Regions from separate parts of the Homo sapiens genome. Here all the other regions are linked to region 1. Evidence: promoter capture Hi-C in 16 types of primary human blood cells and fetal thymus (Javierre and others, 2016). All regions are on one chromosome and are shown on one strand. Each heading gives the region's core, a stretch centred on a gene start or on the middle of the fragment in contact. The rest is flanking DNA. Distances are from core to core; before and after follow the strand shown.

Region 1 (2,695 bases), core at 133-2,632:
CCTCTGCTCCATCTATAAAATGGGAAGACTAATAATAGTACTTTCCTCGGAGTTGTTATAAAGATTATACGAATAACTGTGAAGTACTTAGAATAGTGCCTGGCACAAAGTAAGCACTATGTGTTTTTTTCATGCAAGTAATTTGGCCGGGTGCACTGGCTCATGCCTGTAATCTCACCACTCTGGGAGGCCAAGATGTGAGGATCATCTGAGGTCAAAAGTTCGAGACCAGCCTGGCCAACATGGTGAAACCCTGTCTCTACTAAAAATACAAAAATTAGCCGGATGTGGTGGCGGGTGCCTGTAATCCCAGCTACTCGGGAGGCTGAGACAGAAGAATCGCTTGAACCCGGGAGGCGGAGGTTGCAGTGAGCAGAGATTGCGCCACTGCACTCCAACCTGGTGACAGAGATGCCGTCTAAAAAAAAAAAATGCAAGGATTACTGTGAAATCCGTATGTTAATGTAAAATATTACTTGTGCGTTTAGAAGACAAAGTGATTCCTTTTTCCAGAAAAGGCAAAACGGCCCAAGGGAGCGTGAGAGCCGTGGATCTGACCAACCTGGTTTAGTGTCCTGTGCCGTCTCCCAGCTGCAGGACCTGAGAAAACGTACTTGAAAACTCGTCAAGCTTCGGCTTCCTGACCACACAAGGTCACACCTTCTCAGAAGTTGCGGGGAGGCTCACACATCACTACCGCGCCGGGCACACAGCAGGCGCCGGCTCCAGCCCTCCTGCTCCCGCCCGCGGAGCCTCCAGCGCTCAGTCGAGGTCACAGCGAGCTGAACTGAACCCAAGGCCCGCACCAAACCCACAGGCACTTGGGGGCGGAGCACCCGCAGGCGCGGCTCCCGGCGCGCGGCCCAGTTTCCTCCACATGCAGATGAAAATCACGACCCAAACGTCCTCATGGTGGAAATCAGAAGACGCGCAGGGAAAACAGGGACGCGGAAACTGCCGGGAAGCGCAGGGGCTGACAAGCAGCCTGGCCCAGGCCGTCCCACGAGCGCTCTCCCGCGGGAGTAGCGTTTCCGAGGCCGCCAGCGAGTCAGAGGAAGGCAGGGCGCATCCGCCCTCCAGCAAGAACGCGATGCACTCGGGCGCGACGACGGTCCAGGCAGTTCCCAGGAGGCTGGGATACCAGCCCGGCCGCCCCTCCTTCCCCGCGGCTCCCCGCCCCGCCTCCGGCCCTGAGTGGCGAGTGGCTCGGCCAGAACCCGGACGTCCTCACCTGAGCGGGGCCCACAGCATAGCACCTGCGGGCGGGGCGGCCCTGGAGCCCCGCAGCCGCGCGCGCCGCCCGCCAGCAAAGCCCACGCGCCGCGCCGAGCGCAGCCACACAGCCCCACGCAGCCATCCGGCCGTCGCCGTGCGCACGTGCACGGCGTGCGGCCCCCCCCCCCCGCGAGTCCGTCCGCTGCACAGCCAATCAGCGGTCGGCGCGCGCGGCATCACGGGAGTTGTAGTCCTGTAAGCGCGCGGAGCCCGTCGGGCGCCTATGGAACTCGACCCGCAGGCCAAAGGGGCTCCGTTGCAAGGAAGAAGTGCGGGGTCCCGCCGCCTCCTAGACCGAGATCGCGGTGAGCTGGCCGCGGCGCACAATGGGCACGGCCTGGGCGGCGGCGTCCGTACTATCGCCCTGTGCCTGCGGATCCCGGTAACATTGCGCGGCAGGCCCCAGGCCGGCCTCCCTCAGCTTCGCGGACTGTCTGGGCCGGGGGTCTCAACCTTGACTTCAGGGCCGGGCCGCTGGGGCAGACCCTTAGTGATGTTCAGGTCCTCTGGGCCCCTGCCAGTCAAGGGACGCTCGTCGCGCGCCAATTGTTAAGTCTTTCATTGTTTCTGTAAACCTGCTGACGCCCTCCCAGCGCATAGGGAGACTGCGCACGTGAGTCCGCCCCCGCGCGCACTGCGGAGAGGTAGAGGCACGAATGTAGTACAAGGTACAAAATGACTACTCCAGAGAGGGCCAGATGACTAAGTCAGCAAACACTTAGGGAACACGACTGTGTCCGCTGCGCGTTTCCCGGAGTAGACACAAGGGTGAATGAACAAAGAATGGATTTCGGTCACTGAAAGTGGAGAGGTAGCCGACTCCGTCCGTGGAGGCCCTTAGCAGAGCTGGATCTGGTAGTCCCCCGGTCATGAGGGGAGATTCTGCTGGAGGAAAGAGGTCTCCATTCCCACCGTTTGAAATGTGTAGGATGCCCTCAGATTCTTTGGCCCATTCATAGGTATAGCTATGCTAAAAACGCGGGACCCTACAATGTACTTAGCACTAGCAGAGAGGGAGTCGAGGATATGGACAGAGACTGCACTAGCTCACACATTAGCAGGCCAGGGTGCGGTGGCTCACCCCTGTAATCCCAGAACTTTGGAAGGTCAAGGTGGGAGGAAAACTTGAGTCCAGGAGTTCCAGACCAGCCTGGGCAACATAGGGAGACCCCTTCTCTATTTTAAAAATAATAAAATAGGGCCGGGTGCGGTGGCTCACACCTGTAATCCCAGCACTTTGGGAGACTGAGGCGAGTGGATCAGGAGGTCAGGGGTTCAAGACCACCTAGCCAAGATGGTGAAACCCCGTCTCTGCTGAAAACTGCAAAAATTAGCCAGGCGCGGTGGCAGGCGCCTCAAGTCCCAGCTACTCGGGAGGCTGAGGCAGGAGAATCGCTTGAACCCAGGCAGCAGAAGTTGC
Region 2 (2,695 bases), core at 82-2,581, 480 kb after region 1:
AGGATGGTCTCCATCTCCTGACCTCGTGATCCGTCCCCCTTGGCCTCCCAAAGTGCTGGGATTATAGGCGTGAACCACCACGCCCGGCCTACAAAAACATCTTTTAAAAAGTAGCCATGTGTGGCCTGGGGCGGTGGCTCACGCCTGTAATCCCACCACTTTGGGAGTCTGAGGTGGGTGGATCACTTGGGGTCAGGAGTTCGAGAGCAGCCTGGCCAACACACTGAAACCCCGTCTCTACTAAAAATACAAAATGTAGCCAGGCATAGTGGTGCACACCTGTAGTCCCAGCTACTTTGGAGGCTGAGGCAGGAGAATCACTTGAGCCCAGGAGGCTGAGGTTGCAGTGAGCCAAGATCTGCCACTGCACTCCAGCCCAGGCAACAGAGGGAGACTCCGTCTCAAAAAAAAGAAAAAAAAAAAAAAAAGCTACATGTGGTGGCACAAGCCTGTGGTCCTTGATACTTGGGAGGCTGAGGTGGAACAATTGTGAGCCCAGGAGGTCCATGATGCAGTGAGGTATGATTGTACCACTGCACTCCAGGCTGGGTAACAGAAGCGACACCTTGTCTCTAAAAAAATAAATAAGACCAGGCATGGTGGCTCACGACTGTAATCCCAGCACTTTGGGAGGCCGAGAGGGGTGATCACCCAAGGCCAAGAGTTGGAGACCAGCCTGGCCAACATGGCGAAACCCTATCTCTACTAAGAATACAAAAAAAAAATATTAGCCAGGTGTGGTGGTGGGTGCCTGTAATCCCAGCTACTCAGGAGGCTGAAGCAGGAGAATCGCTTGAACCCAGGAGGTGAGGTTCAGTGAGCTGAGATCGCGCCATTGCACTACAGCCTGGGTGACAGAGCAAGACTCTGTCTCGAGAAAATAATAATAAAAAATAAATAAATAAATAAAGGAAAAGACTGAGAGCAATGTGAAAGAAATGAACTTAAGTATGTACCAAATTGGTAACATAAGTACCTCCCAAAATAAATTATTGCATGTTACATTTTTGAAAGTTTTTTTAGGTAAAGTGTACATACAGTGAACTGCACAGACCTTAAAAGTAAAATTAGGGCCGGGCGCGGTGGCGCACCCCTGTAATCCCAGCACTTTGGGAGGCTGAGGCAGGCGGATCTCTTGAGGTCAGGAGTAGGAGACTAGCCTGGCCAACATGGTGAGACCCCGTCTCTATTAAAAATTTTTAAAAAGCCAGGCACGGTGGCTCACGTCTGTAATCCCAGCACTTTGGGAGGCCAAGGCGAGTGGATCACCTGAAGTCAGGAGTTCAAGACCAGCCTAACCAACGTGGAGAAACTCTGCCTCTACTAAAAATACAAAAATTAGCTGGGCATGGTGGTGGGTGCCTGTAATCCCAGCTACTTGGGAGGCTGAGGCAGGAGAATCGCTTGAACCCGAAAGGCAGAGGTTGCAGTGAGCTGAGATCGCGCCCCTGCACTCCAGCCTGGGCGACAGAGTGAGACTCTGCCTCAAAAAAAAAAAAAAAAAGTCTTCATTTTTGGTTACCCATTTCACTGCAACCTTTGCCTCCCAGGCTCAAGCGATTCTCCTGCATCGGCCTCCCAAGTAGCTGGGATTACAGGCGCGTGACACCATACCTGGCTAATTTTTTGTGTTTTTAGTACAGATGGGGAGTTTCACCATGTTGGCCAGGCAGGTCTGAAACTCCTGACCTCAAGTGATCCGCCCACCTTGGCTTCTCAAAGTGCTGGGATTACAGGAGTGATCCACCACACCCGGCCTGTACTATTAGTTTTCCAAGGTCACTAAGCCTTTCCTTTGCAAAACTTTATGTCCCTATTAATGGCACCATCCTTTCCTCAGTCACTCGGGCTTAAAAAGCATCCTGTGGCACCAGCCCCACAATAGCAGTTCAACTCTTTTATCACTTCCTTTAGAATAGCCTTGTTGAGATATAGATCTCATAACATAGAATTCACCTATAGTGTACAATTCAGTAGTTTTCAGTATTTCAAAGAGTCGTGCCACCATCACCCCAAAAAGAAACTCTGTATCCACTGGCAGTCACTCCCCATCAGGATTTTATCACTTCTGATCTGGCTCAGTCTTCTAACTCCTTATTGTCAATGCCCTCCTTGTTCCAATTCAGTACACACACCACGGGCAATTTGATCTCCCTAAAACACACTGTATCCTCTCTCCTAGATACCTTCCGATACTCCTCCAAAGAACTCTCGGATTCAAGTAAACAAACATCCATTAATACAAGTTAAGTATGTTCCAGGCGCTGTGTGTTCCAGGTACTGTTAACAAAAGCGGGTTACTAGTTAAGACTTCCTTCATGCCCTGGCGCCTCTGCTCAGCCAGTTCCCTTCGCCTAGGAGGACCTCTCTACACCACCCCGCTATATTCCCTCCCCGGAATTCCTTCCCAACCTTCAAGGACCATCTGCCCCAACTAGTGGCGAACATCGAGGCTGTCGTGACTGTGTAGATACTTATTTGACCTGCTCCCTTGGCAAACACTTGAAACGCAATACATGTTTGTGGAACTGAACATAGCCTGTGCATGCAGCAAGGCTTCTTTCCCTGGAATCGCCTGCCCTTCCTCCAACACAGCGACCAGCCGGTCAGAATCCCAACCCCTCGACTCCGGAAATGATCTGAGAGACGGAACTTCCGAACGTCGCAATCAGATTTGGGCGGGCTAGGAGGGTTT
Region 3 (2,695 bases), core at 96-2,595, 340 kb after region 1:
GATCACGAAGTCAGGAGATCGAGACCATCCTGGCTAACACGGTGAAATCCCGTCTCCACTAAAAGTAAAAAAAAATTAGCCGGGCGTGGTGGCAGGCGCCTGTAGTCCCAGCTACTCGGGAGGCTGAGGCAGGAGAATGGCATGAACCCGGGAGGCGGAGCTTGCAGTGAGCCGAGATTGCGCCACTGCACTCCAGCCTGGGTGACAGAGCGAGACTCCGTCTTTAAAAAAAAAAAAAAGTATATCCTCAAGGGAGAGTGTGGGTTATTGCTTTCACTCATAGGGAAGTCAGTTTCTAATCCTGTTCCATCATCAGTGATTAAATGTGGTGATGACTTCTCAGTTGAGCTCTGGTTATGGGCACATTATAAAAAAATCATTGTGTAATTTAGCACGGTCTTTGCTGAGGACTCAAGGACTTCAGTAGCAGTGAGAAGGCCAGTACAGGTCAGCCCCCGAGGTAAATTGGGAGCCCTGTCACTGGAACTCAGCTGGAGTGAGAGGTCACAGGAGGTTATGCCGGAACTGCCACAGAGGATCCCATGGGGCAAAGCTTGCCCCGTGCCTGATCCACCCGGTTGTACTTGTCTTTCTTTTCGTGTGTGCTCACATAAAACAACCGCTCCCAGCCAAATCTGTAAACTGTTCATCAGGATTGCTGTTGGATTCTCTCTTTTTTGAAAAGGGAACAATGGTGGGGATAGGGAGCATTGTAATATTTCCATCTCTTGTTCCTCAAAGTAGGTACCACCTTCCCATTATATCCGTGTTTCTTATGCTGATTGAAAATTACATAAGATACTTGGACATTTTTATTTATTTATTTATTTATTTATTGTTTGAGACAGAGTCTCTCTCTGTCGCCCAGGCTGGAGTGCAGTGGCATGATCTTGGCTCACTGCGACCTCCACCTCCCAGGTTCAAGCGATTCTCCTGCCTCAGCCTCCCGAGTAGCTGGGATTACAGGCGCGCGCCACCACGCCCAGCTGATTTTTTGTATTTTTAGTAGAGGTGGGGTTTCACCATGTTGGCCAGGCTGGTCTTGAACTCCTGACCCCATGATTTGCCCGCCTCAGCCTCCCAAAGTGCTGGGATTACAGGCGTGAGCCACCACGCCCAGCGATACTTGGGCATTTTTAGATTTGAGTTATGCTTACGTGTAAATTTGGAATCCTCGTTCTGGTTTTTTCCTGGTGCGTTTTGTTCCCCATTTCCCCAAACCCCTTTTCCGTGCTCTGTGTAGGGCCTGGATGCAGACAGTCTCCGTGTGGAGCCATTGGGTGAAGACAATTCTGGGGCACTATATTGGTATTTCTATGGAACACGAATGTACAAAGAGGACCCGGTGCAAGGAAAATCCAATGGAGAACTCTCTTTGAGCAGGTATGTTCTTCAGTGTTAGGGCATGATAGCTACTGTATTAAAATGTCATTAAGATTAAATGCATCAGAATTCTACAGCACAATTTTTTTTTCCTAATGAAGGAATTCTCTAAGCATGCCTGCAAAGAGATGGTAAGGAGATACTTCATGCAAAAACAAAAAGGAATTAATTCTCTGCTACCAGAGGGGTTAAATATACTTTTTTAATCTGAAGTTCTTGATAGGAGGTTTCTGAGAAATGCCACTCCTCTTGCCACAGGCTATTTTAATATAGCAGGTTTCTTCTCAGCAGCACAATCATTTCACTGCAGTAACAATTTCATCTTGCATCATCAGTCCTTGAGATCTCCTTATTTCGACTAGAATTAATGATGTAGTTTATGCCAGGCGCAGTGGCTCATGCCTGTAATCCCAGCACTCTGGGAGGCCGAGGCGGGCGGATCACGAGGTCAGGAGATCGAGACCATCCTGGCTAATACGGTGAAACCCTGTCTCTACTAAAAATACAAAAAATTAGCCAGGCGTGGTGGCGGGCACCTGTAGTCCCAGCTACTCGGGAGGCTGAGGCAGGAGAATGGTGTGAACCCGGGAGGCTGATCTTGCAGTGAGCCGAGATCGCACCACTGCACTCCAGCCTGGGCGACAGAGCGAGACTCCATCAAAAAAAAAAAAAAAAAAAGAATTTAATGATGTAGTTTATGAACGTTAGTATCCATCAGTTTAAGAACAGAAGGAATTTAAATGATGCCTGAAACATAAGCTTTACTAAGTAAGGAAGAGGCCGCATTTCCATAGCATCCCAAAACAATGCTAACCTCTTATTTAGGCTTTCTTACTGCTAGGAGAATGCTTACTCTTCGGAAGGTGTTAGTTAGATCTTAAGCACATTTTAGTATTGCAAAATGTTAGTTTTCCTCAGATCCACAGTCTAATAATGAAGACTGGAAGTTGCTGTTCCCTTTTCCTTTCACTGCTACATTTAATCCTTTTTGGTAATCTCATGGCCAGAAATACTGTTTTAAAATCATATGTAGCAATGCCAATCCTGTGCCAGAACATTTCTATTTAATATTATTTATTAGGGAAAGTGAAGGACAAAAAAATGTCTCAAGTATTCCTGGAAAAACGGGAAAAAGAAGAGGAAGACCCCCAAAACGGAAGAAACTGCAGGAGGAGATTCTGTTGAGGTAAGAAAATCTTGTTAGTTGTGGTCATAGACCATGGCAGAAGGGACCTTAATTCATTTATTCCTTTTTCTTTATTTTGCCTGTGCCATGGGAAGCACATTATTATAGCAACCTGAAACTGAGTCC
Region 4 (2,695 bases), core at 76-2,575, 320 kb after region 1:
GTGGAGGTTGCAGTGAGCCAAGATCGTGTCATTGCACTCCAGCCTGGGTGACAGAGCGAGACTCTGTCTCAAAAAAAAAAAAAAAAAAAAAGTAACTTCATTTAGTTGTGCATAATTCGCCTCATCTATAAAATGGAATTAGTGACAATATTCAGTAAAGTTATTATGAGGATTAAACGAAATGATGAGTGAGAGTAATCATCATGAAACACTATGCCTAGTTCCTCCAAAGGCTCAGCAGAAAACAGATTTTGACTCAACCAAGTGTCTGTATCCTTTTCCGTTGTGGTTTGCATGTTTTAGAACAGGGGCCAGCAAATGTTTTTTGTAAAGGGCCAGATAGTCAATACAGGCATGCATCACATACTGTCATTTTGTTCAGTGGCAGACCTCATGTACGACAGTGGTCACACGAGGTTGTGATAGACACAAAAATTTTTATCCCCTAGAGATATTATTGCCCTTGTAACATGCTTGCACATGCATTACTCATGTGGTTATGGTGATGCTGGTGTAAACAAACCTAGTGCGCTACCAGTCATATAAAGACCTAGCACTTACAGGCCAGGCGTGGTGGCTCACGCCTGTAATCCTAGCACTTTGGGAGGCCGAGGCGGGCGGATCACCAGGTCAGGAGATCAAGACCATCCTGGCTAACACAGTGAAACCCCATCTCTACTAAAGATACAAAAAAGTAGCCGGGCGTGGTGGCGGCACCTGTAGTCCCAGCTACTCGGGAGACTGAGGCAGGAGAATGGCATGAACCTGGGAGGCGGAGCTTGCAGGAAGCCGAGATCACGCCACTGCTCTCCAGCCTGGGTGACAGATCGAGACTCTGTCTCCAAAAAAAAAAAAAAAAAAAAAAAAAAGGGCGTGGCATGGTGACTCACGCCTGCAATCCCAGCACTTTGGGAGGCTGAGGCAGGTGGATCACAAGGTCAGAAGATCGAGACCATCCTGGCTAACATGGTGAAACCCCGTCTCTACTAAAAATACAAAAAATTAGCCGGGCGTGGTGGCAGGTGCCTGTAGTCCCAGCTACTCGGGAGGCTGAGGCAGGAGAATGGCGTGAACCCAGGAGGCAGAGCTTGCAGTGAGCCAAGATCATGCCACCGTACTCCAGCCTGGGCGACAGAGCGAGACAAGACATAGCATATACCGTCATGTACACTACATAATAGTTGATAGTAAACAACTCTTACTGGTTTCTGTATTTACTGTGCCGTACTTTAAATCATTATTTTAGAGTGTATTCCTTCTAGTTTTGTTTAGTTTTTTTGACACGGGGTCTCACTCTGGCACCCAGGCTGGAGTGCAGTGGTGCAGTCTTGGCTCCCTGCAATCTCCACCTCCTGGTCTCAAACGATCTTCCCACTTCAGCCTCCCAAGTAGCTGGGACTCCAGGCGTGCACCACCAGGCCCATCTAATTTCTTTATTTTGGGGTAGAGGTAGGGTTTCATCATGTTGGCCATGATGGTTTTGAACTCCTTTTTTTTTTTTTTTTTTGAGACGGTGTCCTGCCTCAGCCTCCCCAGCAGCTGGGACTACAGGTGCCCACCACCACACCTTGCTACTTTTTTTGTATTTTTAGTAGAGACGGAGTTTCACCGCATTAGCCAGGATGGTCTCGATCTCCTGACCTCGTGATCCTCCCACCTTGGCCTCCCAAAGTGCTGGGATTACAGGCGTGAGCCACCGCGCCCAGCCTAGTTATTTTTAAAAAGTTAACTATAATATACAACAGCCTCAGGCGGTCCTTCAGAAGAGATTCCAGAAGAAGGCATTGTTACAGGAGATGACAGCACCGTGCATGTTACTGCCTTGAAGACGTTCCAGTGGGACAAGATGTCGAGGTGGAAGACAGTAATATTGATGATCCTGACCCTGTGTCGGCCTAGGCCGATGTGTGTGTTTTTGTCTTCCTTTTGAACAAAACAGATCAAATGTAAAAAACAAAAAATTTCAACAATAGAAAACAGCTTATAGAATAAGGATATAAAGAAGGCCGCCACACAGTGGCTCATGCCTGTAATCCCAGCACTCTGGGAGGATGAGGTGAGAGGACGGTTTGAGGCCAGGAGTTCGAGACCAGCCTGGGCAACATAGCAAGACTCCGTCTCTACTAAAAAATAAAAATAAATGAATTAGCTGGGCAATATAGCAAGACCCCTGTCTCTACTAAAAAAATTAAAATAATTATCTGGACATGGTGGTGCATGCATGTAGTCTAAGCTACTAGGGAGGTTGAGGTGGGAGGATCAGGAGTTGGAGGCTGCAGTGAGCTACGGTCCCTACTGCACTCTAGCTGTGGCTACAGAGCAGAAAAAAAAAGAAAAAAATATTTTTGTATAGCTCTAAAAAGTGTTTTAGGCTGTTATTACAAAAGAATCAAAAAGTTAAAAGTTTGTGAATTTTTAAATGTCATAGTAAGCTAAATTTATTATTGAAGGAAAGGTTTTTTTTAAAATAAACATAGTATAGCCTAAGTTTACAGCATTTAGAAAGTTTACAGTGATGTACAGTCATGTGCCAAGCCTTCACATTCATTTACTACTCAGTTACTGATTCACCCAGAGCAACTTTAGTTCTGCAAGCTGCACTCATGACAAGTGCTTTATACAGATACACCATTTTAAAAATCTTTTGTACCATGTCCTTACTATACCTTTTCTATGTTTAGATGTGTCTGGATCC
Region 5 (2,695 bases), core at 69-2,568, 280 kb after region 1:
GACAGTCTTTTCAGATTGACAGTCCATGAACAGGAATTTGCTAATATTTCTAAGACTCAGACCTTGGCAGAAAGATCGGAAAGCAAGGTAGAATTTGGAGACCGGGTTTTATAATTGTAAGATCTCACTTTTGTGAATTGCTGATTAGAATTCACAAAAGTTAGATCCATGGTGCAGTGCCTCTTCTCTCATCTCTAAGTTTAGGAAGCCCTCAGCACCTTTTGAACTGTGTAACCTGACAAGAAAGATGTCTGGGGAATTAGCAAGTTCTATTTTTGTTTGGTCCAGTGAAAATTCTGGACAGGCCACAAACACATTCTAGGGAGTCTAGAATAGACTCCCTTGAGCTCTTTTAATTCTTAAAAAAAAAAAAAAAAAAAAAAAAAACAGGAGCAGGACCATCCAACTTAATCCAGTGAAACGGTGATTTTTTCTCATAGTCATCCCATCCCTTATACAGTGTCTCTCTGGCCAAATTAATTAATACATCAGATGTTCTGAAACACACTGTACTAAATTAGATTTGGGGTCATAGCTATGAATTATCAGTCATCCTCCAAGGGTGCTGGGCAAAGCAAAGGTAAATTTTTTGAAACTTTAGTTTCTTTCTTTTCTTTTCTTTACCTTCTTTCTTTCCCTTCCTCCCTCCCTCCCTCTGTCTGTCTCGCTCTGTCACCCAGGCTGGAGTGCAGTGGCACCATCTCAGCTCACTGCAACCTCCGCCTCCTGAGTTCAAGAGATTCTCCTGCCTCAGCCTCCTGGGTGGCTGGGACTACAGGTGCGTGTCACCACGCTCAGTTAATTTTTTATATTTTTAGTAGAGACGGGGTTTCACGGTGTTAGCCAGGATGGTCTTGATCTCCTGATCTCGTGATCTGCCCGCCTCGGCTTCCCAAAGTGCTGGGATTGCAGGTGTGAGCCACTGCACCCGGCCTTTAGTTTCTTGATGTACCATTTGCTGTTAGCTTAAATTATGCCAACTACAGCCCAAGCTTAATTCAACATTTAAATAAAGTTCTATGCACAATAATACAACACAGCACTTCTATTATAGCAACAACATTAGCTGTCTCTAGTTCCTAAAATAAGAAACTGGAGTGACGGAAGAAAGACTTGGGTTGCTTGTTCCCACCTTTGACTTGTAAACTTCCTTAATGGTCTTTCATCAGATGCTTAAGCTGCCAGAGTATCCCTTATGAATTAACCAGCTACTCTGTGGGAAACTGCTTTTGTACTACTTCCAATTCTGACAACCTTTTTCTCAAGTTGAGCTGCCTCTGTTCCTACTTCTGAAATGCCTGTGCAATGCTGACTGAGTTTGTCACCAGTAAGTTCTCCCCAGACAGGGAAGTCCTGCGGGACCAGTATCAGTCCTCAGTCAGGAAGAGGTTGTATAAATAGCGGGTGCTCACACTCTAGAAAAAGGGGCGGAGGAGAAGGTAAGTGTTGAGCCCCAGATGTGAACTCCTATTTTTGTTTCAGGGTAATTAATGTTTCCTTAAGTGAGCTAAGCCTTGGGCTCTTGCGCCTCTGGCTTTCAGGCCTGAATCAGCAATCTTTAGGCAGGAACTGGGGGTGGGGAAAAGGATTTTGTATTTCATGTCATCCCCAAATGAATGAAGTAATATGAGAGCAGCACTTTCTGAAGCTTGGCCTTGAGGCTGGAGAATGGGTTGTGGAAGGTGAAAACTTTCCTTTTAAAATCCTAGTGACTTGGGGAGAACTGGCCTCTGACAAGTCTCTTGCTGCAGTCTGATGACTGCAGCTCTCAGAGATGCTGTTGGGTTGTCTGGTGTTTGTTTCTAGTTCTCTGCTCGAGTGTTAGTGCCATTAGATGGTCTTGCCCCTGTCTGCGGTTCTGCCTTCCATGTCTTCCCCTTCCCCCTTGGCCTCCTAAATTAGATACATTCCCCCTCTGCTCCCAGACGTCTCCATCTCCTCATCCCCTGACAGAGCAATCATTTATCAAGTTGTTTCACGCGTTGTCGGGAGGGGGGCCCTGGGGACTCAGTTTGTTTCGTCCCTTTGTTGAAGCTCCACAGGATCGGCCAGCTTAGTCTCCAGCCAACTGCTGAGAGTTGCTGGACTCCAGGAGCAAATGTTAAAGGGGCCGCCTTTCATCTACTTGCTGTGACTTCAACCTTTCTATTTAAATTCCAGCTTATTGGAACTCACATACGTACACTTCCTCGACATGTTTTTGATCATATGATATTTCTTTTTCATTATGTACCTCCCCATCCATACCATCACTGAGGACCTGAAATAGATTTTTCATAGTATATTACTGTAGACATACTTTGTAAGTAGGAGTTCCTGCTTTTTTATGACTTCTTTTTATGTATGCTTTGACTTATCAAGGTGTCACACTGTTGACCATAGAAATTTCTAAATAGTATAGGGATTAAAAAAAATTTTAAAGTTTGTCAGACTTTAAAATGCAAGGTGAGCATCACTGCTTCTTAGCAGGAGTGATGAAGGTTTTCCATAGTGTCTACAAAGATAAAAGGAAAAATTTCCTTCGACTTCAAGGATGTATAGTGTGAATGTTAACCAATGTTGACCATGAATTTGAAAGATGGATGTTACTCACTGTAACTTAATAGTTTAAAAGGACAAAGTTTCTTTTGTGGAGTAATAGAAATGAGACTTTAATGTTAATGAAAATTTTTTTCTGTGATCTAGGAATATTTCC

The links. Contacts are between HindIII fragments. The CHiCAGO score rates a contact against its expected background, and 5 or more counts as called.
Region 2: a fragment that was not itself captured here is called in contact with the fragment with the promoter of HDHD5 in region 1 in 6 of 17 cell types (total CD8 T cells, neutrophils, naive CD8 T cells and 3 more); the score reaches 9.0 in total CD8 T cells.
Region 3: a fragment that was not itself captured here is called in contact with the fragment with the promoter of HDHD5 in region 1 in 15 of 17 cell types (M0 macrophages, M2 macrophages, M1 macrophages and 12 more); the score reaches 29.4 in M0 macrophages.
Region 4: a contact is called between a fragment that was not itself captured here and the fragment with the promoter of HDHD5 in region 1, in 1 of 17 cell types (naive B cells). The highest score is 5.3, in naive B cells.
Region 5: a contact is called between a fragment that was not itself captured here and the fragment with the promoter of HDHD5 in region 1, in 1 of 17 cell types (naive B cells). The highest score is 6.7, in naive B cells.

The regions. Positions count from the first base shown.
Region 1 is chr22:17,157,895-17,160,589 of GRCh38, forward strand. HDHD5 (haloacid dehalogenase like hydrolase domain containing 5) reads right to left here and starts at 1,383. Exons shown (of 8, transcript NM_033070.3): 1 at 1,232-1,383. The coding sequence starts at 1,357. HDHD5-AS1 (HDHD5 antisense RNA 1) reads left to right here and starts at 1,495. Exons shown (of 2, transcript NR_024483.1): 1 at 1,495-1,943. RefSeq lists a silencer at 1,065-1,394. The HindIII fragment of the contact is 6,885 bases long and covers 629-2,695 here.
Region 2 is chr22:17,635,920-17,638,614 of GRCh38, forward strand. It overlaps a transcript of BCL2L13 not described here. Among named protein-coding and RNA genes, the nearest start is that of BCL2L13, 1.5 kb to the right of the region's middle. RefSeq lists enhancers at 1,103-1,975, 1,976-2,695, 2,400-2,449, 2,500-2,679. The HindIII fragment of the contact is 6,545 bases long and covers 1-2,695 here.
Region 3 is chr22:17,498,167-17,500,861 of GRCh38, forward strand. CECR2 (CECR2 histone acetyl-lysine reader) reads left to right here. Exons shown (of 19, transcript NM_001290047.2): 4 at 1,244-1,383; 5 at 2,465-2,569. Among named protein-coding and RNA genes, the nearest start is that of SLC25A18, 64 kb to the right of the region's middle. The HindIII fragment of the contact is 1,589 bases long and covers 552-2,140 here.
Region 4 is chr22:17,481,273-17,483,967 of GRCh38, forward strand. All of the region lies in intron 2 of CECR2 (CECR2 histone acetyl-lysine reader), which reads left to right. Among named protein-coding and RNA genes, the nearest start is that of SLC25A18, 81 kb to the right of the region's middle. The HindIII fragment of the contact is 8,324 bases long and covers 1-2,695 here.
Region 5 is chr22:17,435,324-17,438,018 of GRCh38, forward strand. All of the region lies in intron 1 of CECR2 (CECR2 histone acetyl-lysine reader), which reads left to right. Among named protein-coding and RNA genes, the nearest start is that of CECR2, 67 kb to the left of the region's middle. RefSeq lists an enhancer at 243-803. The HindIII fragment of the contact is 656 bases long and covers 991-1,646 here.